Linked DNA regions of Homo sapiens: regions 1, 2, 3, 5, 6 and 7 are each linked to region 4. The links are contacts of gene promoters, found by promoter capture Hi-C in blood cells and fetal thymus (Javierre and others, 2016). All regions are on one chromosome and are shown on one strand. The core of a region is centred on a gene start or on the middle of the fragment in contact, and the rest is flanking DNA. Distances in the headings are between cores, read along the strand shown.

Region 1 (2,733 bases), core at 61-2,560, 870 kb after region 4:
CACAGCCAGCCAGCCAGGAAAGGAGGGGAAAGGTCGCAGTGGGGATGGCTCCTCCCTTCCCGTCTTAGAGCCCTTCTTAAGCAGAGCCCGCCGAGCTCGCTGAGATGTGGAAAGTCACAGGGTTCTTTCCCATCCGGCACGGGCACTTGACCCGGGTACACGGAACCGCCAGTTCTAAAGCCACCAGCGGCCTTCCCTTCCACGGCGTGTACACCCCTTCCCGGGGGTCCTCCCCATTCCCAGTGTCTCTCCGGGACTCTACTTTCTGAGATCCCCCGTTGCGTGCTCTCAAGACAGACCGCACAGTCTTGGCTGGGTGGGTTCGGGGGTGATTAGTAAGGCAGCCTAGCCCCCCAAATCTGGACATAAGGCTGGTCTGTGACCTCCTGGCTCTTTAGTTCAAGCCGAAAGCACCCTTAAAAATCATCTAGCGGCCGGGCGCGGTGGCTCACGCCTGTAGCCCCAGCACTTTGGGAGGCAGAGGTGGGAGGATGGCTTGAGATCAGGAGTTCGAGACCAGCCTGGGCAACATAGCGAGACTGTCTCTATTTAAAAAAAAAAAAGAAGAAGAAGAAGAAAAATCATCTAGTGGCCAATGTCTTCATTACAGATGAGAAAACCGAGGCCCATTTAAATACCAAGTGACTTGCCCATATGCAGTTAGGATCCCACACCAGGGCCAGGAGTATTTCACGTTTTCTGAAGCGACACGACAAACTCTCATAGAAAGCAGAGCTTGCAGAGCTTAATATGTTGCACAAGGGCCTCACCATTCCAGAGATACCGATGGCAACTGAAACTCGGGATTTGGAATCTTGGTACAGCTATGAAGTGAAACAAAACCAGCTCTTCAGTCCTTGAAATGAAGAAAATAACGAGTGGGGTAGGGGTCTGGTGCCCTCTGACAATTTAGTGCACCCGAAATCTCTGGGGAAGAACCCACCCTTCACGGCGGGGCTTCACGGACACGAAGGCCATCGGTGTTTTTCACCTACTGGGGAGAAGGGATATGTGCTCTCTGACTCCTTCAAATGTTTTCTACAGCAGAGATGGCAGTCGAGATTAATACACACGCCTCGTCTCACTCCAGAACACAATGACTCAAAACCGCACGACGTGTACTTTTGGAAACAGCTCCGCGGGAGAGCACCCGGGACAATCCCCAAACCCCGTTGCCCGCGGGGTGGGGCCGCGGACGTGCGCCACGTCGTGTGCGTCCCGGGCGTGCGTGCGGCCTCCAGTGCGCGTGCGCGTACCCTCCTGGGGCGTGCTCGCGGCTATAAGGGGCGGAGGCTGGGCGGCGTTGCTCTGCGCTCTGCGGCTGACGGCGCTTTTGTCTCCGGTGAGTTTTGTGGCGGGAAGCTTCTGCGCTGGTGCTTAGTAACCGACTTTCCTCCGGACTCCTGCACGACCTGCTCCTACAGCCGGCGATCCACTCCCGGCTGTTCCCCCGGAGGTGAGCGGCCCTGTGGGCTTCCCCGGCTCCCCACCCCCATCGCTAGAGTGCTCGCCGCGCTAGCAGCCTCGCGTTCCAGGGCTGGGGGTGCGCCGCCGGGATCCTCTCTGATCGCCCACGCCCCATCTGGGGTCCCCATTCAGCCGTCAGCCCTGTTTTGTCCTAAGGTGGTCCTAACTAGGATCCACGTGGCCCATCCCACGCCCACAGGTGCTGAGTTAGGCATCCCTGCCATGCCCTCCCAGAGCACCTTCACGATCTCCTTGCTGTCCCAACACTTAGCGTGTTGCGTGTTAACTACCCTTTGTCTATAAGGTTTGCAATGTGGCCCTAGTATCTTCCAGGGTACCTAACACATTGCAGATATTCATGGTATGTTTGTTAAATAAATGAACTTGATAGATTTGACCCTCATAGAGTTATTTGGACTTGCAAAAAGTTTGTAGTTAACTCCAATCTGTGATGTGGGAGAGACTTCTAGGCAGGTTCCTTTCTCCAGGGCATGTTCTTATATTTCCCATTACCCACCACCCCCCTGCAAAAGGACTGGGCCTATTTCAGGAAGGTGACTGATGCCTGCACTGTAGCACAGGGGTTGTGTATTGTGCCTTGCAGGAACAAAATTTTCAATAAAGTAAATGTTTGTTTGTTTGTTTTTGAGACGGAGTTTTGCTTTTGTTGCCGAGGCTGGAGTGCAATGGCGCGATCTTGGCTCACTGCAACCTCTGCCTCCCGGGTTCAAGCAATTCTGCCTCAGCCTCCCGAGTAGCTGGGATTACAGGCATGTGCCACTATGCCCGGCTAATTTTTGTATTTGTAGTAGAGACAGGGTTTCACCATGTTGGTCAGGCTGGTCTCGAATTCCTGACCTCAGGTGATCCACCCGCCTCGGCCTCCCAGAGCGCTGGGATTACAGGTATGAGCCACCGCGCCTGGCCTAAGAAAGTAAAAGTTTTAAGAAGTGTTCTTGAATTAGTCCAAGAAGCAACACTGGCTCCGCAGCCATGAAGTTTGCAATGTAAAATATTCTTGGAGAGTTGCTGTGCAACTCCCTGGTCCCTGTGTCCCTCACTGGCTAAGCCTCTCCTTCAGCCCTGTGAGAGGACAGAAGAGTCAGGGCTGGATGCATGCATATCCCCAAAAGGCTATAGATTCATCCTTTCCTCTTTTTTCTCAGGGTCCAGAGGCCTTTCAGAAGGAGAAGGCAGCTCTGTTTCTCTGCAGAGGAGTAGGGTCCTTTCAGCCATGAAGCATGTGTTGAACCTCTACCTGTTAGG
Region 2 (2,700 bases), core at 121-2,620, 760 kb after region 4:
GACCCTTGTTGGGGAGAGTGAGTGAGAGAGACAGGAGCTGGCAAGGACCAGTGTGAGGAAGAGATGGCATCGAGGAGCTGAGTGTGAGCAGAGGCAGATGAGAGGCAGATAGAAGAGTGAGTGGGAAAGAAAGGGAGCAGTTTCTCAGAGCAGCAACAATCCTTGCATGACACAAAGCAACTCTGATGCTGGGCCCACTGCAGCCACTATGACACCAGTGAGAAATGCCTGTAATTAGGAGGTTGGCAGTTCTCTGGGCCTCAGCCCAGAGTGAGGATGCAGCAAGAATTTCTGAGCCAGGTGATGGAGGAGACGCAATCAAAACCATTCTAGTCCCATCCCTCCACCGCACCGGCACCACCTCCCTCCCATTTCTCTTCCCCACTATGATTCTCTCTCTCCTCCAAACACAACTGATTCTCCTCCTCCATCTGAGGTCCCAGGCCCTGGACGCTCCTCTCAGCCAAGACAGATGTTCATCTGCAAGGAGAGTAGTGCTTGAATTCTTCCACTCCTGCATTGGACCTGGTCTGGCCAAGGGCTCTACCCTCTCCTGGCTTCCCTGCCTGCTTCCCTCTTGGCTCCCAAGCCTCCCTTCCAGTCCCCAGGAGCTGATGGGCAAAGTTGGAAGAAAAAAATCACGAGGTTCCTGTGCTTCCACTTTGAGCCTAGTGTGTATGCTCCTGCAGGTCTCCCTGTGATATGCAGGACAGCTGCCAAAACACTGTCAGATTTTTGTTTTCAAACCTAATCCACAACCCTGTTTTTGTGCTACTCGGAACCACCGCATTTTAGCCAAATGACAAACACACACCACAGAGCGCAGAGCCAAATGCTCCAGGCAAGGGAGGGATTACAGAGTGCCTGGTGGTTGGATGTGTTTGTGGGTCTCTCACTGTGAACTTTGCTACAGGAGCTGGCTGGGCTGGACAGGCTTTCTCCAGGGAGGATCTGCACCTATTAGAGATGAGAGTTCTTCAGGAGAAGGGGGAGGGGGTTGAAGAGCCCCTGTTGGTGGGTGAAAAGGTAGAAAGGTAGTTTCCTCTTTGTGGATCCCAAACTGTGGGAACATGGCAGGGAGGCTGCTGAGGATCCCAGCTCAAGGTGACCAGGACCTTTTACATGCGTCTCAATATTTCCATGAAGGACTTGACTCCTAACTAGTCCCCAGCCAATTGTCTACCAGGACCTGAAGCCAACTCCTAAGAATGCAGGCATTTCCACCAATGACAGTAGAGTTTCTGCCTCACCTCCCAGGGCGATGTCCCATCTCTGTGAAAAGCCACTTCCCAACGATTCAGAAGAGTCTTCAAGGGGCTGCTCCCAGTAACCCCACTCATCCCAGAAACAGGACAAGACTCGTTGGTCTTGTATGAAGGTCCCTGGGGTCTGGAATGGACCCACCCCACCCAAGAGCTGCTTCTCTTCCACTAGTGATGGAATCACTGGTGCTGTTGCTCAATTGAGTTTTCCCAAAAAAGTCAGACCTTGCTCCTCTGAAAATATTTTATTGATAAATTAAGAGCATTCCCCTCCCACCCAACTGCTATAAAGTCTCCTAGATGGGTCATGGACCCCTGTGGGTGTCACATGGAGGAAAGGGAGTCCCATTCACACAGGGGTGGGATTCCTAGGCATGGCAGAGGTGGGTAGGGGGGCCTGAGGCAGGTCCCAGGGTCCTCTGAGGACAGCCCCTCTCACTCAGCACCAGAGTGGGGAGTGGTGGTCAGGAGTGGAGCACCTTGGAGCTTTATTGCTGGTGAATGCCAAGGAAAATGGGACCCCTGCCAACCTAGATTTGCAGCTGAGGGCATCAGCACCCAGGGCTCCAGAGAAGGTGGCACTGATTCCCAATCGATAGAGCCTGGCTGCTGACCCACCCACCCAGGGACCCCTGGATGGGGAAGGAATCTGGAGAGGTATCTGAGCCAGGGAGGATTGGGGAAGGATTACAGTGTGCAGGTCTCGGGCAGGGCAGGCGCCAGAAAGGGGCATATCGCAGGGTAGCAAGGTGGCCACCTCTTCACAGGTCTATGGTGTCGCTGCCCACGCTCAGCTCGTCGATCTGTCGGCAGGCGTCCAGGAACTGCTCCTGCAGCAAGGCCTCCTCGGCCTGCAGCTCAGAAGCAGGCTCTGGGGAGTCGCGAGAGGGTGGGGACAGGGCCTGGTAGGATCCTGAGGCCGGGAGGCTGGGGCTGCTTCCTGAGGGCCGCGGGGGACTGAGGACGCAGACCAGAGGGCAGCGCGGGGGCCTGTCGGGGCTGGAACACAGCAGCATGGACGAGCTGTCCCGCGAGAGTCCGCAGAACGAGCCAGATGAGACGCTGCTGCCTGCGGGCCAAGCCCCAGGGGAGGGGAGCTCCGGGGGCGCAGCGGGGCCAGAGGCCTCCCCTGATCTCTCACTGGCCCTGCCCCCGGTCCCCAGCGAGGCGGTGCGGTAGAGTCCGAGCCCAGGCAGAGCGTCCTCGAAGGCAGGGCCCTGGAAGAGGCCAGGCGCAAGCAGGGCCTCGCTGCAGAGGGCCTCCTCGATGCTGCGTCGCAGGTTGATTGGGGAGGGCGGGCGGAAGTCCACGGTGTAATCGCTGCAGGGAGAGGAAGCCGGGGACGGGGCCGGGTTGGCCGCCGCGCCTTCGAAGCCCCGGCAACCTCCGCCCTGGAGTAGGAGGTCTGGGCCTGGCCCTGCCAGCGCGCACAGCTGCA
Region 3 (2,799 bases), core at 44-2,543, 650 kb after region 4:
AGTGCAATGGTCTGATCTTGGCTCACTGCAACCTCCACTTCCCAGGTTCAAGCCATTCTCCTGCCTCAGCCTCTCAAGTAGCTGGGATTACAGACACTCACCACCACACCTGGCTAATTTTGTATTTTTAGTAGAGATGAGGTTTCACCATGTTGGCCAGGCTGGTCTCGAAATCCTGACCTCAGGTGATCCACCCACCTTGGCCTCCCAAAGTGCTGGGATTACAGGCTTGAGCTACCACGCCTGGCTGGGTTGGTTCTCAATGGAGTGGTTTGTTTTTGGAGCTGCTCTGCGCAGTGGGGACCAGAATAGGCCTGGGTTCCTAGCCCATTGCTATTCCTTACCAGCTGTGGATTCTAAGGAAAGTCATTTAACCTCGCTGGACCTTAGATTCCTCATCCCTGAAGCCCAAGGGTAAAACAAAACAAAACAAAACAAAACAAACCAACCCATCATGTAAAGCGGGGAACTACAAACGATACAGGTGAAACATGCCTACCACACCACTCACAGGCTATGATGACAAAAACGTGGCTACATCTGGGACCACCCCCCAACCCCCACTTTGTACGTAGGAAATACGGAGTTGAGGATGGAGACCCACAGTATGTCCAGAGTGTCCCCAAAGGCCACAGTGCCCGCCTGGAGCCCTCCAGAGAGCGTGCACTCCCTGGGGTGCCAGCCAGAGACAACTTGCCCTGAGGCTTGGAACTCGATTCTCCGCGTGCCAGAGAAGGGGTGGGACTTCAGAACCCCCAACCCCGCAATCTGGGTCGGGGAGCCTGGCGCACTGCGGGCCGCTCCCTCTAACCCTGGGCTTCCCTGGCGTCCAGGGCCGTCGGGGCCGAGTCCCGATTCGCTCCCACCCCGAAGCCGCGCCAGGACCAACGAGGGCGCAGCCGTATGCCCCAGCCCGCTCCGCGGAGCCCCTCACAGCCACCCCCGCCCCGACCGCGCCCCGCGCGGCTCGAAGCACCTTCCCAAGGGGCTGGTCCTTGCGCCATAGTCGCGCCGGAGCCTCTGGAGGGACATCAAGGATTTCTCGCTCCTACCAGCCACCCCCAAATTTTTGGGAGGTACCCAAGGGTGCGCGCGTGGCTCCTGGCGCGCCGAGGCCCTCCCTCGAGGCCCCGCGAGGTGCACACTGCGGGCCCAGGGCTAGCAGCCGCCCGGCACGTCGCTACCCTGAGGGGCGGGGCGGGAGCTGGCGCTAGAAATGCGCCGGGGCCTGCGGGGCAGTTGCGCAAGTTGTGATCGGGCCGCTATAAGAGGGGCGGGCAGGCATGGAGCCCCGTAGGAATCGCAGCGCCAGCGGTTGCAAGGTAAGGCCCCGGCGCGCTCCTTCCTCCTTCTCTGCTGGTCTTTCTTGGCAGGCCACAGGGCCCCACACAACTCTGGATCCCGGGGAAACTGAGTCAGGAGGGATGCAGGGCGGATGGCTTAGTTCTGGACTATGATAGCTTTGTACCGAGTTCTAGCCAGATAGAAGGTTACCGGGAGCTGGGGAGCGTTGGATTTGCTGCTGGGCTGTGCCGGTGCCCAGAAGGCAGGACCTTGCAGAACCAGCCAGGTCCCTGGGAGACTGTCAGACCCACCAACCTGGTGGCATTCGCAGAGCTGAGATGCATTGGAAATTGCCTTGGGCACATCCCCAAAGATCAGGATGTCCCACCCCAGTCTGAAGGAGATAAAGTTGGGGGTAGGAGAGACGCAGATGCAAGTGATCAGTCTCAGTCCCAGACATTGCCTTGCTCTGCGGGTAGGAATTCAGGATTCATTTTCCAGGGAAGTTCCTGACCTCTGAATGAGAGGGGCTGTGTAAGGCCAATGCCTGGGAGGAAGGCAAGGATGAGTAGAGGTGGGGGGAAACAAGTGTCAGGAAGACTCAAAATCTTCCAGAGAAATTGTGCAGGGTCTTACCAGATCTGTCCTCAAAGCCATGCAAATTGCCTTCTTTGCAATGCATACAATGAGGTGTCTCTGGGGGTCAGAACTGGTTATTAGGGAACTTCTAGCCAGGACTGCTAAATACGCGCTGTTGGCCCACCAGGCTCACCTATAGCCTTCCTTCAGTCTGGGCTTGGTTTGGATTTCACTGTGGGTGCCATCGCCTTTACACTCCTGTTTCTATAGTTTAAAGATAGTGGTGCTTTGGGAAAGTGACTCCTTAAATACAGTTAGGTCCAAGTGAGACAAGTGGCCTGGCTGTCATTTCAGAATAGCAGCTTCCAAGAGGTGATTAATTTCTGTTGGAAGGGTGATCTTTGGGGAGGTGGGTGAAGAGCAGAGACTTGGTGGTACCGTTCCAGGAGCACAGGCTCTCTTCCTTTGCAGTGCAGAATGACCTCTGGCAGCCGGAGTTGTGTTTGTTCTGTAGGATTCTGAGGTGGGCCATGGGCAGCTGGAACTGGGGAATTTTGCCAATCTCTTTCATATTAGGATTGTCTGCAGAACCAGATATGGAGGCTTCTAGCAACGTGAGTGCTCCTGTTCTAATGCCCTTAGAAACAAGAAGGCCACACTGATCATTTCTCTCACTTAGGCAGGGAGACAAGGCAAGAGAGAAACAGTGGATGCTTTTAGGTTCTTTCCCTTCCCAAGCAGTTGTGGACATTGGGCTGAGGGGAACATTTCCACATTGGCTAAAGGAGCGTCCTCCTCATATTTTGTACATTTTATACCCAAAATAACTCTTCTTGGTATTTGGGGAAATATTTTCCTCCCCGTCCATTCCAGGAAATGGCTCCAAGTGCCAAGGACAGAGCCAGGGAAGTTGCAATGAATTCCTGCCCGTCAGCC
Region 4 (2,793 bases), core at 260-2,759:
TGTTATTATATTGGAACTCTCTAAAATGTACTCTTCAGCCTCGTAAAAGCCTTCTTAGGGATGCAAGTCTATGACTGAAGAGAAAAGGAAAGTCATTCACTCACTCATACCTGTTTCCCAAAGTCTGTCCTTGTTACAGACTTTGCAGATCAGGATGGGGCAGGCCCTGGAGGTCTGTTCAGACCCCGTTTCTCAGTGGCCCAAATAACATCAAGCTGTATTATACATAACATTCAGTCACATTATCAAATCATTTTAAGATTCACCATAACCCCTTAAGTTAGAACAAGTCTCATTTTATAGATGATGAAATAACGGAAGAGTTATGAGGAGTGCTGAAGCCAAATCCTCAAGAAATGGCAGAATTAAGATTTGAACTAAAGCCTGAAATCACGTGCTGGCAAGTGGTGGGTGCTCAGTAAATATCTGCTGAAAAAGCAAATGAATGAGTGAAGGTTTTTTTATTCCCAGCTCAGTTTACCTCGAGTCCATAAACAATTGATCCTAGAAGCCCACTGGGAATCCAGAGTAGACATAACACCTACCCTCGCTCCATTGAGAATCTATCAGTCCAGTTCAACTGAACAAGCATTTGTTAGGCCTAATAATGCCTGGCAATGAGCCAGTCTCCACCGCAGAAGAATTTCATTCCTATTTTGCTATTCTCCTCTCAGATGTTAAAATGAGGCAGGGAAATGACATGTGAAGCTCTTTGGGTCTACGGAGTCAAGATCTTCACAAAATCCTGAATGGATGTGCAAGAATAAGCCAGGTCCACAAGTCTGTGGCAAAGTGAGGAACTTCGGCAAAGCGGCCAGCGCCTGGACTGAGAGGCGGGGCCCGCAGGGCGATCCAAACGAAGGTGGACTTCTCCAACAGCCCAGGAGTGGGTCTGTGACCCCGCCGCCCAAGGCCGGGAATCTTACACTGGTTCTGCGGATTGGGAATTAGGAAGTAGGCGTTTTGAGGAACCATGGAAGCTAGCTAGCACTCGGGCACCTTCCCCTACCTCCCGCGCACTCTTCACACGACCACCTACTACGCGCAAGTCCCTCGGTGGAAGATGAGGCAGTAAAGGGAGGACCAAGACCCCTAATCGCAGCTTCCACTCCCCAAAGGAGAGTGGTGCACACGTTCAGTGCTACTGGTTCCCAAGGGCTAAAACCGGAGCCCCTAGGGGCCTGGACGCAACAAACCAAAGCCCAGCGGCCGGCCACTGAAAATGGGGGCAGGGGCCGCTGCGGAGCGATGAATCCTTTCCTCAGCCGCGCTCGGGCTGCCGGTTCGGCGGCCACAGGCCTGGCAGGCGCGTTAGAGACCTAGACCCGTTCCCAAGTAAGGGCCGCACGGGACCCAGGCCAGCAGCGGCAACTCGCGGAGCTTCAGCTCCCCTAGGAGCCAGAGCCGGGGGAGGCGGGGCCGAGAGCCGGGGGCGGGGCCCGGACGGGGGCGGGCCCGCGGTGACGTCGGGAGGGCAGCGACGCGCGGAGGCGGCGGCGGAGCCTCCTCCTGCTGCTGCTGCGCCCCATCCCCCCGCGGCCGGCCAGTTCCAGCCCGCACCCCGCGTCGGTGCCCGCGCCCCTCCCCGGGCCCCGCCATGGGCCTCACCGTGTCCGCGCTCTTTTCGCGGATCTTCGGGAAGAAGCAGATGCGGATTCTCATGGGTGAGGCAGATCGAGCGCGCGGCCCGGACCGGGGCGCCGGCCCCGGCGCAGCCCTTCCGCCCCCGCGTCCCTCCAGCCCCGCTCACCTGGGTCTCTGGCCCCGAGTCACCCACCTCATAACGCCCCGGGGCCTCTGCTCTCGGGCGGGTCCCGGTCTGCATCGCCGACCCCGGGGCCTGACACCCGGAGCTGCGGGCCTGGGTGGGGTGAAGCTCCCTCCGCCCCAGCCCGGCTGGTAAGAAGGGAGGATTCCGCCCTTGGAGACGACTTTTAAAACGAGCGCGGCCTACCTCCCGTGCCCCTTGCCTCCCAGTCCTCTCCCGCTCCGCGCCCTCTTTGGAGTTGGCTCACGCCACCCGACTGCCCTCCAGGCCTCAAAGGTAGATAACGACGCGCACCTGGAGGCGCTCCCGCTCTCCGCCCCAGTCACCATCAGCTGTTGTGGCCTCTCCCTTTCCCTGGTCTCTAGGGGGCTCCCTCGCTCCCATCTCCATCCCTGTGCCCCTTTCCGTTGCAGTTGGCTTGGATGCGGCTGGCAAGACCACAATCCTGTACAAACTGAAGTTGGGGGAGATTGTCACCACCATCCCAACCATAGGTGAGCCCGGGGACGAAGCAGGGAGCGGGAGCGCCGCGGCGGGCCCTCGCGGGGTCTGCTCCCAGTTCTGCCACTTTTCTGGAGCTGACCCTGACACCAGATACAGCTATTTGAGAAGTGGGTCAGGGTATCTCTACGTGGATACCGGAGGCAGGGTGGATGTGACCTAGCCCCGCCCTGTTGACCGCCAGTTCTGGGGTTCTGTTCCCCTGGGCCTTGATCATTGCCTTCTGGTTTTGTGTCCCTGCTGAAATCTAAGTAGTTTTAGTGAGTTCCTTTCTTTCAGGAGTTTTCTCATCTTTTTTTTCCAATTATCTGCAGGCTTCAATGTAGAAACAGTGGAATATAAGAACATCTGTTTCACAGTCTGGGACGTGGGAGGCCAGGACAAGATTCGGCCTCTGTGGCGGCACTACTTCCAGAACACTCAGGTGGAGTGTTGGGAGGGGACTTTCTAACCCCACGGGAAAAGGTGTTAGGGCTGGGAGAACAGAATTGTTGGCCTAGGCTGGGCCCCCAGGCCAAGGAAAA
Region 5 (2,849 bases), core at 41-2,540, 610 kb after region 4:
CGCCCCACCCGGGCCCACCGGGGTGGGCGTGGCTACGTGGCTCCCTGGCGCTGAGGCGCCTCCTTCCCAGGTGGGCGGGGCTCCTGCCGGGTCGGTTCCCGCAGGCTGCCCGCGGACCCCAGCCACTTGGCCAGGCTGCAGGGACAGTGCGAGGAGGCGCTCAGCCTGGACCACAGCGGAGGTGTGCAGGACTCAGCGAGGCCCCCAAGCTTGTACGCCTCCTTCCTCCGCCGGCTTCTCTGTCTGCCTCCCACTGTCCCTATTCTGCCCTTCACAGATCGTTGTCATTATCAAGTCCTACACTTTGAGAGCAGAAAACGACCCCGTACGTGGTGGGTCTCCGACATCTGTTTATTACGTTGGACCGCATGCTGCATATGATCCAGCCACCTCGCTCTACTCCTGTGGCTGCCCTTCGTCCTCGTCGCCGGGACCCCTCTCCCTGCCTCCCAGACGACCTGTGCCTTACCCCTTCCTGTCTCTTATATTCTCATAAATTTGCTGCCTCCTCTCCTACGTCCGTCCTTCGGGGTCAGCCTCCATCCATTACCTCTCAGCAGCATTGCGAAGCCTCTGTTTTCTCCCCGACTTGCAGCAGCCTCTCCCTCCTCCAGTCAATTTCGCAGGTTTTTCCCAAAACCTTCAGAGACTGCCCATTGCCTGTAGAGGAAAAGCAGGCTCTTCGCCTGGCACGGACCACCAAGGTTTGCCTGAACATCCTTTCCCACCTTTTCTCTCACTTCTCCCCTTCCTGTGCCTACAAATCAGCCCCTCTGTGTATGTCTCGGCCTTGAGCCTTGGCTTCTGCCATTCTCTCTCCTCCTCCTCCTCGTCTCAGATTAAAACCCCTCCCATCCTTCCCAGCTCAGCTCAAATATTACCTCTTTGGTGAAGCCTCCTTTCCTCCTCCCCTTCACCCCTTTCAGCCTGGAGAATCTTCTTCCCCGGGCCTTGCAGTACTGGGACCCTCGTCCAGTCCCCATGGATGCTGATTTTGCCCCATCATTATTTGTGCTGGTGCCATGGGAAGAAGCGGCCCAGGAGAAAGATCAGGCTCCAGGAGAGGCTGATGCGCTTGCTTCGGGATGTTTAGTTGGAAGGGCTCCGGGCACCCAAGGAGAAATGTCCACACTTCCCTTCTAATCTGGGGGCCCCTGGAGGACAGGGTCTGTGGTGGGCTTGTCTCTACATCCCCAGCTCCCAGCACAGAGCAAGGCGTGCGCAGGCACTCATTGACGTCTGCCAAGCCAACAACTGAGGAGCAGATGTAGGGCCCAGAGGCACCAGCTGCAGGGATTCAGGGAAAGGGATTAAGGTACCAAGGGAAGTTCCAGGAAAGAGGAGAGATTGATCTATCTCCACTCAGCAGGCAAGGGTTTGGATGGGGAAAGGGAGGAGAAGGGTGTATGGCGAAGACTTTCTGACAGAGGAGGAAGGAATTTCTGGAGGAGGGGTGGGAGGTAAGCTGGGACTATGGCTGGGCTTGGGAGGAGGGACAGTGCAGGATCTGGTGGTCCTGTCTGTGCAGAGGGTGCCAGGCAGAAGAGCTGGTGGGACAGGGTGGGGCACACATTTGAGCCAGAAGGAGATCCAACCTCACCACCCTGTGCCCTGTGCGATCTCAGATGCTGGTTGGGGTCCCTCACCCCTTATCCTCTTCAGGGGAGTGGCCTGAGGAAAGTCCTTTTCAGAACCTGGTCCAAAAGCCTGCGTGGGAAGAAAGCGGGAGAGGGAAGCTGAAGACCTCTGTCCATGCGCCAGCTCATGTTTTATGCTTGCCAAGTCCCAGGAGGGACACGGGGAAGGTGGGAATCTCAGCCAAGTACACAGCTTATTCCCGGAGGGGCGACGGGCCACAATCAGGAGGTTGGGCTGGTGAGGCGGGTGGCAGGGGGTCCAAGAGGCTTGTGGAGGCAAAACCTGAGGACTGATCTGAAACAGGGGCAGGGGGAGGAATCACAGTTGGCAGACAGGAGCAAGCCTGTGAGGTATGTGGCTGTGTCCACTGTCCTTGAACAGAGGTGATGGCCAAGGGGACAAGCTGGGACTGAAACCAGCTCTGGCTACGAGCCCGGCCACACTGGCAGGTCTGGGAGAGGGGGCCCCTTTCTCTCATTTGCGCGAAGGGTCTGTTGGGGCTAGTGGGGCCCTGCTTGGGTCCCCTTTTTGCCCTCCCCAACTCCCCTACCCTCCCTTGCCCCTCCTCCTCCCTTTCCTCCTAACAGGCTCCTAACAGGCTCAAAAGCCTGTTTCCCCCTCCCCACTCCCACTTCAGTGAAATGCAGTGAGTTCTGAGGAAAGGCTCCATCTCAGCCATTTTCACCTCCATAGGAAGATGCTTTCTGCTCTGTTTCCTGTTACCTTTGCAAGGAAAGCTTCCTCCCTATTAAGTGGAAGTGGGAGGGAGCAGTTTGGAGGGGTGAGAGTTGGGGGTTTCCTATGGCCCCCTTGTCACTTATAGGGAGAAACCCTCCTACCACGAATGCCTAGACGGGGTCGAGTGTTGGCCAGAAAAGCTCTGGAGGGTTGCTGGTTTGGGAGGAAAGGCTGTGAATTGTTTTCAACAAGCATAGGCTTCTGCAGCAGGAGGACCCACACAAGGGCTGGTTTCTGTTAATGAAGCAACTGGAAATGTGAGCCTCTGACGTCCGAGTCAGCCTGTGTGGATGGTCCAAGAAGTGGGGAGTGGAGAGAATGAGGCCGATGTTTAGTTGCTCCACACATCTGAGTGTTCTCTGTGTTTGCCAAGCACAGTCTCAACCTTGGGTTCATTTCATCTGTGAGTTTATTCAGTAAATACTTATTAAGCACCTACTATGTGCCAGGCACACTTCGAGGCACAGAAAATG
Region 6 (2,713 bases), core at 171-2,670, 820 kb after region 4:
TGGGGGGTGCGGGTCGGTTGGGGGTGGGGGTAGGGATGGCCCCTTGATGCAGAAGTGCAATCTGGAGAAAGGATGCACTCACATGGCTCCGGCCTGAGCTCTGAAACATTATGTTTGCAACCCCTACTCTAACCAAGCACTGCCTCTGTCAAGCCCCAACCGGCTCATTCAGCCCCTGTGGCCCCTCCCTATCGCCCTGCGGCCTGAACCCCAGGAGCTGGATTTCTAGGACAGGAGAAAGGCTGGGAGTTGCCTAAGCCTGAGTCAATTCTAGAGAGGCAGCCTGCCAGGACAGGGGGGCCTAACTCAGCAGCCCCACTGCCGAGGAGCCCCTTAAGCCGTTAAAAGTTCTTACATAAGCGGCCAACCCCTGGGCAGAGCTGCCGGGCTAATTCCCCCAGACCACCCCCATCTAACCCAGCTGCCAGGTCACCTCCCCAAGCTGCTGAACACCAGCAGATGGGCAGAGAAAGAAGTCCAAATCCTCTGGACCGGAAGGACAGTGGGATTGCATTTCAAGCTGCGATACAATCCAGAGATTAGCTGCTGTCTCCTTTTCAGCCAGTCCCCCTGGGGCCCAGCTCACTACCCTACTCTTCCTCCAGTGTCCCTCATTCCCCTACAGACCCCAGCATGGGGGCCTGCGTCTTCGGAGAGACCTTGAGGTGAGCTGCACTGGCAGCCTCTCAGATCTCAGTGCATGGTGAGGAGGGGAGAGTGTCCTCACCTAGCCCTGCGAAGGCGATCCATCTGGACACCAACACCTGCCAGTAAGACCACTGAAGATAGTTCTAGGAGGAAACAGCTAAGGAGGGGTAAGCCAAGTCAGTCGGACAGGACTCCAGCAAGCACTGTTTGAACCCCAGGAGTTGGAGCCACCTGAACGGGGTGTCGTCGGGTGTGTAGCGAGGTCCAATCTAGGGCTAAGATTTTAGGGAAGGTTTTTACGACCTGTTCCCTCTCCTCCGCTCCCCCGTGCAACGAAGCACCTAACCCTTCGCACAGTGCCCGTCTGCATCCCCCAACCAAAGCCGGGAGCGTGGCGTTTCGGGAAGTTAGAGGCTGAGGCGGTAATAGGGGAAGGGTTTGTGGGGCCTGCCCCTCCCCCGCAGCGTCGCCGGGTTCCCGGAGCCGCCGCGCCCTCCTCGGCCGCCCGCCCCGGATGCGCCCCGCGCGCTCTGCCCTGGGCGTCACCTCTCGGGCTCGTAGCCGGCCTGCAGCAGTCGGGCGCTGTACCGCTGCGCCGCCGTCTCGTGTCCCGGGTGTTGCCGGGCTCCGGGCTCCGGAACAGCGGCGGCTCCGCCTCCCTGCAGCGGTGGTGGAGTGAGTGGCCCCTCCATGCGGAGGCCGCAGCTCAGGGCGGGCGGGAGCCTGGAGGCTCCCGGGGCCCCGGCTGGGCAGTGAGCGCAGCCCGGTCGAGTCCCGAGGAGGGGCGGGGCCGCCGGGGCGGGGCCTCGTGCCGGGGGCGGGGCAGGGGAATCCGGGAGTCGACTGGGCTCCGCCCTGGGCTCCCCGCTCTCCCCGGCGCTGCTACGCAGATGCCTAGACTCGGTTCGTCTCTCCCATCCCAGATTCAGCGAGGGTACATCGGGGGATGAGGGGGAGAGGTGTCCCTACACGGGTGGGACTGGAAAGAACCCCGTCCCCTTCCCTGCCGTCCGGACCTTCCAGTGTCTCCTGGCCCCTTCCGAGGAAAACCAGAAGAGGAAAGGAGCTGGACTCCAGAGGCAGGGCTTCTCCTTGCGTCTCAGGTCCGCTCCTCTCTTGCACGCCGACGATGCCAGGTCCCCTGGAGCGCCTCATACCCGCAGACCGCAGACCTCCCGCGCTGGGGCGAGAGAGTCGTGCTCAGCCGACTCCACGTTAGAGAGCGGGGAGAGGGATCTCCACAGCCTGTAATCTGCCAGGGAACGAACAGAACAGACAAGGCTGCGGGCTCCTTAAGGAACAGGACCTAGTCTTGCCTCGTTGTGGAGGTACTTTACCTTGTTATGTTACCCCGTAACAAGGGAGTGGGGCAGAGCAGTGTACTCAAACTTGTTTGTCCACTTACTAGAAGGCGCACTTTTTCCTACTGTTATCATTGTGAACGGTGATTGAACACCTAGCAAAAATGGCAAAGAAATGTAAGAGTCCTTGCCCTCAGGCAATTTATTTCAGGAGACAAAGTAGATGAAAATAAACAGCTGATAATTCTCATGCCATATACAGATGGTCCTCGACTTACAATGGTTGACTTAAGATTTTTCAACCTTACAGATGGATTTACCCTGAGGTAGCCCCATCTTTAAGTCGAGAAGAATCTGGAAATTTTATTTTATTTTATTTTATGTTATGTTATTTATTTTTTATTTTATTTGAGACGGAGTCTCGCTCTGTCGCCCAGGCTGGAGTGCAGTGGCGCGATCTCGGCTCACTGCAAGCTCCGCCTCCCGGGTTCACGCCATTCTCCTGGCGCAGCCTCCAGAGTAGCTGGGACTACAGGCGCCCGCCACCACGCCCAGCTAATTTTTTGTATTTTTAGTACAGACGGGGTTTCACCGTGTTAGCCAGGATGGTCTCGATCTTCTGACCTTGTGATCCGCCCGCCTCGGCCTCCCAAAATGCTGGGATTACAGGCGTGAGCCACCGCGCCCGGCGCATCTGGACTTTTGTCTGACAAGTCTGAGGGAACAAATGGTAAACACTGCGTGATTGAGGAGTGCTAAGATGT
Region 7 (2,740 bases), core at 147-2,646, 630 kb after region 4:
AGTCTGGTGGCTCTTCCATCACCAGCTGGAATCCTGGAATACTAGGAAACCGAGCTCCGAGAAGAGACATGAGGCGTGTGTATCATGCATTGCACGTGAGGATGGAGTAAAACTTTGTTGTTGTAAGCCACCAAGATTTTCAGGCTGCCTATAACTGCAGCACAACCTAATTTTGTGCTGTCTGATGCCATGTTTTATATAACATGGTAGTGTAGTAGAAAAATGTGAGCCTTAGAGTTTAAAATGCTGGGCACGATGTCTCACGCCTGTAATCCCAGAATTTTGGGAGGCCAAGGTGGGAGGATGGTTTGAGCCTGGGAGTTCGAGACCAGCCTGGGCAACATAGTGAGACTCCATTTTATTTTACTTTTTAAAAAAATAAAATAACAATTTAAAAAATAGAGATTAAAAGACATGAGCTAAAACCTAAACACTCACTGACTGTGAGCAAATCTGTTAGCTTCTTTGAGTCTCAGTTTCTTCATCTATAAAATGGCACGATGTTTTTATTAGGTTCGGAAATAATATTTAAAAATATCTAGCACAGGATTTGGCACATAGTAGATGCTCAGTTACAATGATTATAATTTCATGTATTCCTCAAAATAATACTATGAGTAAAGAGAGGGTATGGGTGTAAGAGAAAGGATAGTCATTACTGATGTTTCAAATGCCGTCATACACTATGGAGAACACTGACCAGGGACCCCAAGGGTAGGGGAAGGTTTGAAGTCATCTGTGTCCACCCTCCCCTGAACTCAGAGAAGTCCTAGAAGGGAGAGAAGGCCTGAAGACACCATTTACAATTTAGCCTTTCCACTGCCAGAGGAAAAGCAGATTCTACTTATGGTAGTGACTATTGACACCTTCAGCATATAAAATAAGAATATAGCAGTGGAGTGAGTTAGTGTCCCTGTTAGTTTCACTGAAGCTTGTTATCCTAGCAAAGCGCCAGCCAAGGTCTTTCCCAAAGGCGCAATGAACTAAACTCTTCTCTGAAATCAGCTTATTAGTATTATCATGACCACTTCAGCTAGCTCACCCAGGACCTGGGAATGAGCTGGAGAGTGAACTACAGAGGAAGGGAGAGAAAGAGAATATCCTCAAGGCAGCAGGGGATTGAGGGGTCCTTTGTCTCCTCCTGCTTCCCAGCAAGTCTTGCCTGATGGAGGAACAAGAGCAGTCAGAGGACGGGGTGGGGAAATTCCAATTCTGTGTGTCCTTCCTTCACCATGCCAGCTGCTCTGGAAACCTCCAGTTCCAGGTCAGATGCCTGCTGCAGTTCCCACTTATATTTAATTTGGTAGAGTATATCTCCTCCAATCCCAGTTTTCTCCAAGGTCTGCTCCCAGATCATCGTTTGCCTCTTAAATACCACATCCTAGCCATGAACTTGGAATTCTGAACATTCAATGGCCTGCCCCCTTGGAACGCCTCAATTCTGCCTCTGGGATGAAAGTTCCTTGCACGTTTTCACACACATGGAGTGCAGAGAGTCACTGAGGACCCAAGGAGAACTTGAACATCACCTTGACCACCTGTCATCAGCAGGAAGTCAGGCTGGAAGCACTTGTTGAAGCCCCCACAACCTTTGGTGAATGAAAAATAGAGATGTTCCATTCCAGACAAAGCACTGCATGCTTGGGCAGCTGTTCCACCTGCCACCAATCCAACCCGGATTTGCTCTTCACTGACTTTTCACTTTTCCACGCAGACCAAGACCCCATGAAAATGCCCATGGCCAGTGGGGTGACTGATTTCCAGCAAATGTGTGGTCCTTCTAAATTGGGGAGGTTTACCAGAAGCATGTATTAGATGAACATGGATTTGTGACCTGTGCTCAGGTCCCTGTTAGTTTCACTGAAGCTTGTTATCCTAGGAAAGCACCAGCCGAGGTCTTTCCCAAAGGTGCAATGAACTAAACTCTTCTCTGAAATCAGCTTATTAGTATTATCATGACCACTTCAGCTAGCTCACCCGGGACCTGGGAATGAGCTGGAGAGTGAACTACAGAGGAAGGGAGAGAAAGAGAATATCCTCGAGGCAGCAGGGGATTGAGGGGTCCTTTGTCTCCTCCTGCTTCCCAGCACAGCTTTAAACCCTGTGCTCAGGGTTTAAAGCATGGCGAGAATGGAAACCGGATGGTGAGATTGAGTCCTGGTGGGGCTAGTTGACTTCATTTTGATCAAGATCACAGATTTTACCCCTGACCCAGATTAAAATCTATAAAATGGGCTTTTGTGACCATGAGAGACACAAGCAGTGACGTGCAGGAGCAGACTTATAGTGGCTTGTGAGAGCCAGGTGTAAAATATTCTGGAGCTTTGTAAGCCAATTTTTAAAATCATTAGTAGCTTGAAATCTATCGTGGTGCAAGTATTTATACCATGGAAATTGGTAAACCCCTACAAATCGGGGTTTCTCTTCCTCCTTCCCTCCTCCTCCTTCTTTGTGAGAGCTAGTTTACCAAGGCATGTGTGTCTTCTCGCAAAACCATTCTTTCATTGGAAAAACTATTCCAGATATGGGATCAGGGGAACAGTTTTGTATATGGGAAGAACATAGCTCTCTGGAATCACAGACAGCTTTGAGGACTCAAAAAAAAAAATCAACAACCAACTTTTAACATTGATAGAAACTTTGATTAGATAGGGAGTTGTGGCTTCAGTGACTGTGCTGAGATTTTAAATTTAAAAGATCTTGCTGAAGTGAAAATTACATGTAAATGTTGGGTTGTATA

What was found. The method cuts DNA at HindIII sites, captures the fragments that hold promoters and counts their contacts. A CHiCAGO score of 5 or more calls a contact.
Region 1: the fragment with the promoter of HILPDA here is called in contact with the fragment with the promoter of ARF5 in region 4 in 2 of 17 cell types (fetal thymus and non-activated CD4 T cells); the score reaches 9.0 in fetal thymus.
Region 2: a contact is called between a fragment that was not itself captured here and the fragment with the promoter of ARF5 in region 4, in 5 of 17 cell types (fetal thymus, neutrophils, total CD4 T cells and 2 more). The highest score is 9.4, in fetal thymus.
Region 3: a contact is called between the fragment with the promoter of LEP here and the fragment with the promoter of ARF5 in region 4, in 4 of 17 cell types (neutrophils, monocytes, erythroblasts and 1 more). The highest score is 10.7, in neutrophils.
Region 5: a contact is called between a fragment that was not itself captured here and the fragment with the promoter of ARF5 in region 4, in 2 of 17 cell types (naive B cells and endothelial precursors). The highest score is 6.7, in naive B cells.
Region 6: a contact is called between the fragment with the promoter of IMPDH1 here and the fragment with the promoter of ARF5 in region 4, in 1 of 17 cell types (fetal thymus). The highest score is 5.4, in fetal thymus.
Region 7: a contact is called between a fragment that was not itself captured here and the fragment with the promoter of ARF5 in region 4, in 1 of 17 cell types (neutrophils). The highest score is 7.8, in neutrophils.

Annotation. Positions count from the first base shown.
Region 1 is chr7:128,454,568-128,457,300 of GRCh38, forward strand. HILPDA (hypoxia inducible lipid droplet associated) reads left to right here and starts at 1,311. Exons shown (of 2, transcript NM_013332.4): 1 at 1,311-1,456; 2 at 2,634-2,733. The coding sequence starts at 2,702. It also overlaps the pseudogene EFCAB3P1. RefSeq lists enhancers at 1-45, 954-1,123 and a silencer at 1,224-1,363. The HindIII fragment of the contact is 2,271 bases long and covers 1-1,360 here.
Region 2 is chr7:128,348,833-128,351,532 of GRCh38, forward strand. PRRT4 (proline rich transmembrane protein 4) reads right to left here. Exons shown (of 6, transcript NM_001174164.2): 6 at 1,493-2,700. The coding sequence ends at 2,024. Among named protein-coding and RNA genes, the nearest start is that of RBM28, 6.3 kb to the left of the region's middle. The HindIII fragment of the contact is 5,699 bases long and covers 1-2,700 here.
Region 3 is chr7:128,239,985-128,242,783 of GRCh38, forward strand. It overlaps LEP (leptin), which reads left to right and starts at 1,294. Exons shown (of 3, transcript NM_000230.3): 1 at 1,294-1,322. RefSeq lists promoters at 1-1,322, 1,076-1,322 and a cis regulatory region at 1,240-1,248. The HindIII fragment of the contact is 7,258 bases long and covers 1-2,799 here.
Region 4 is chr7:127,586,902-127,589,694 of GRCh38, forward strand. ARF5 (ARF GTPase 5) reads left to right here and starts at 1,510. Exons shown (of 6, transcript NM_001662.4): 1 at 1,510-1,664; 2 at 2,182-2,262; 3 at 2,584-2,693. The coding sequence starts at 1,598. All of the region lies in intron 1 of LOC105375490 (a long non-coding RNA gene), which reads right to left. RefSeq lists enhancers at 331-957, 958-1,583, 1,584-2,210, 2,211-2,793 and a silencer at 1,347-1,836. The HindIII fragment of the contact is 7,240 bases long and covers 1-2,793 here.
Region 5 is chr7:128,201,358-128,204,206 of GRCh38, forward strand. No RefSeq gene overlaps it. Among named protein-coding and RNA genes, the nearest start is that of MIR129-1, 5.1 kb to the right of the region's middle. The HindIII fragment of the contact is 2,166 bases long and covers 208-2,373 here.
Region 6 is chr7:128,408,562-128,411,274 of GRCh38, forward strand. IMPDH1 (inosine monophosphate dehydrogenase 1) reads right to left here and starts at 1,421. Exons shown (of 17, transcript NM_000883.4): 1 at 1,195-1,421; 2 at 880-923; 3 at 728-791. The coding sequence starts at 1,340. RefSeq lists a silencer at 948-1,567 and an enhancer at 1,838-2,077. The HindIII fragment of the contact is 8,032 bases long and covers 1-2,713 here.
Region 7 is chr7:128,218,617-128,221,356 of GRCh38, forward strand. The region is part of intron 1 of LOC124901744 (a long non-coding RNA gene); the gene reads left to right. Among named protein-coding and RNA genes, the nearest start is that of MIR129-1, 12 kb to the left of the region's middle. The HindIII fragment of the contact is 935 bases long and covers 930-1,864 here.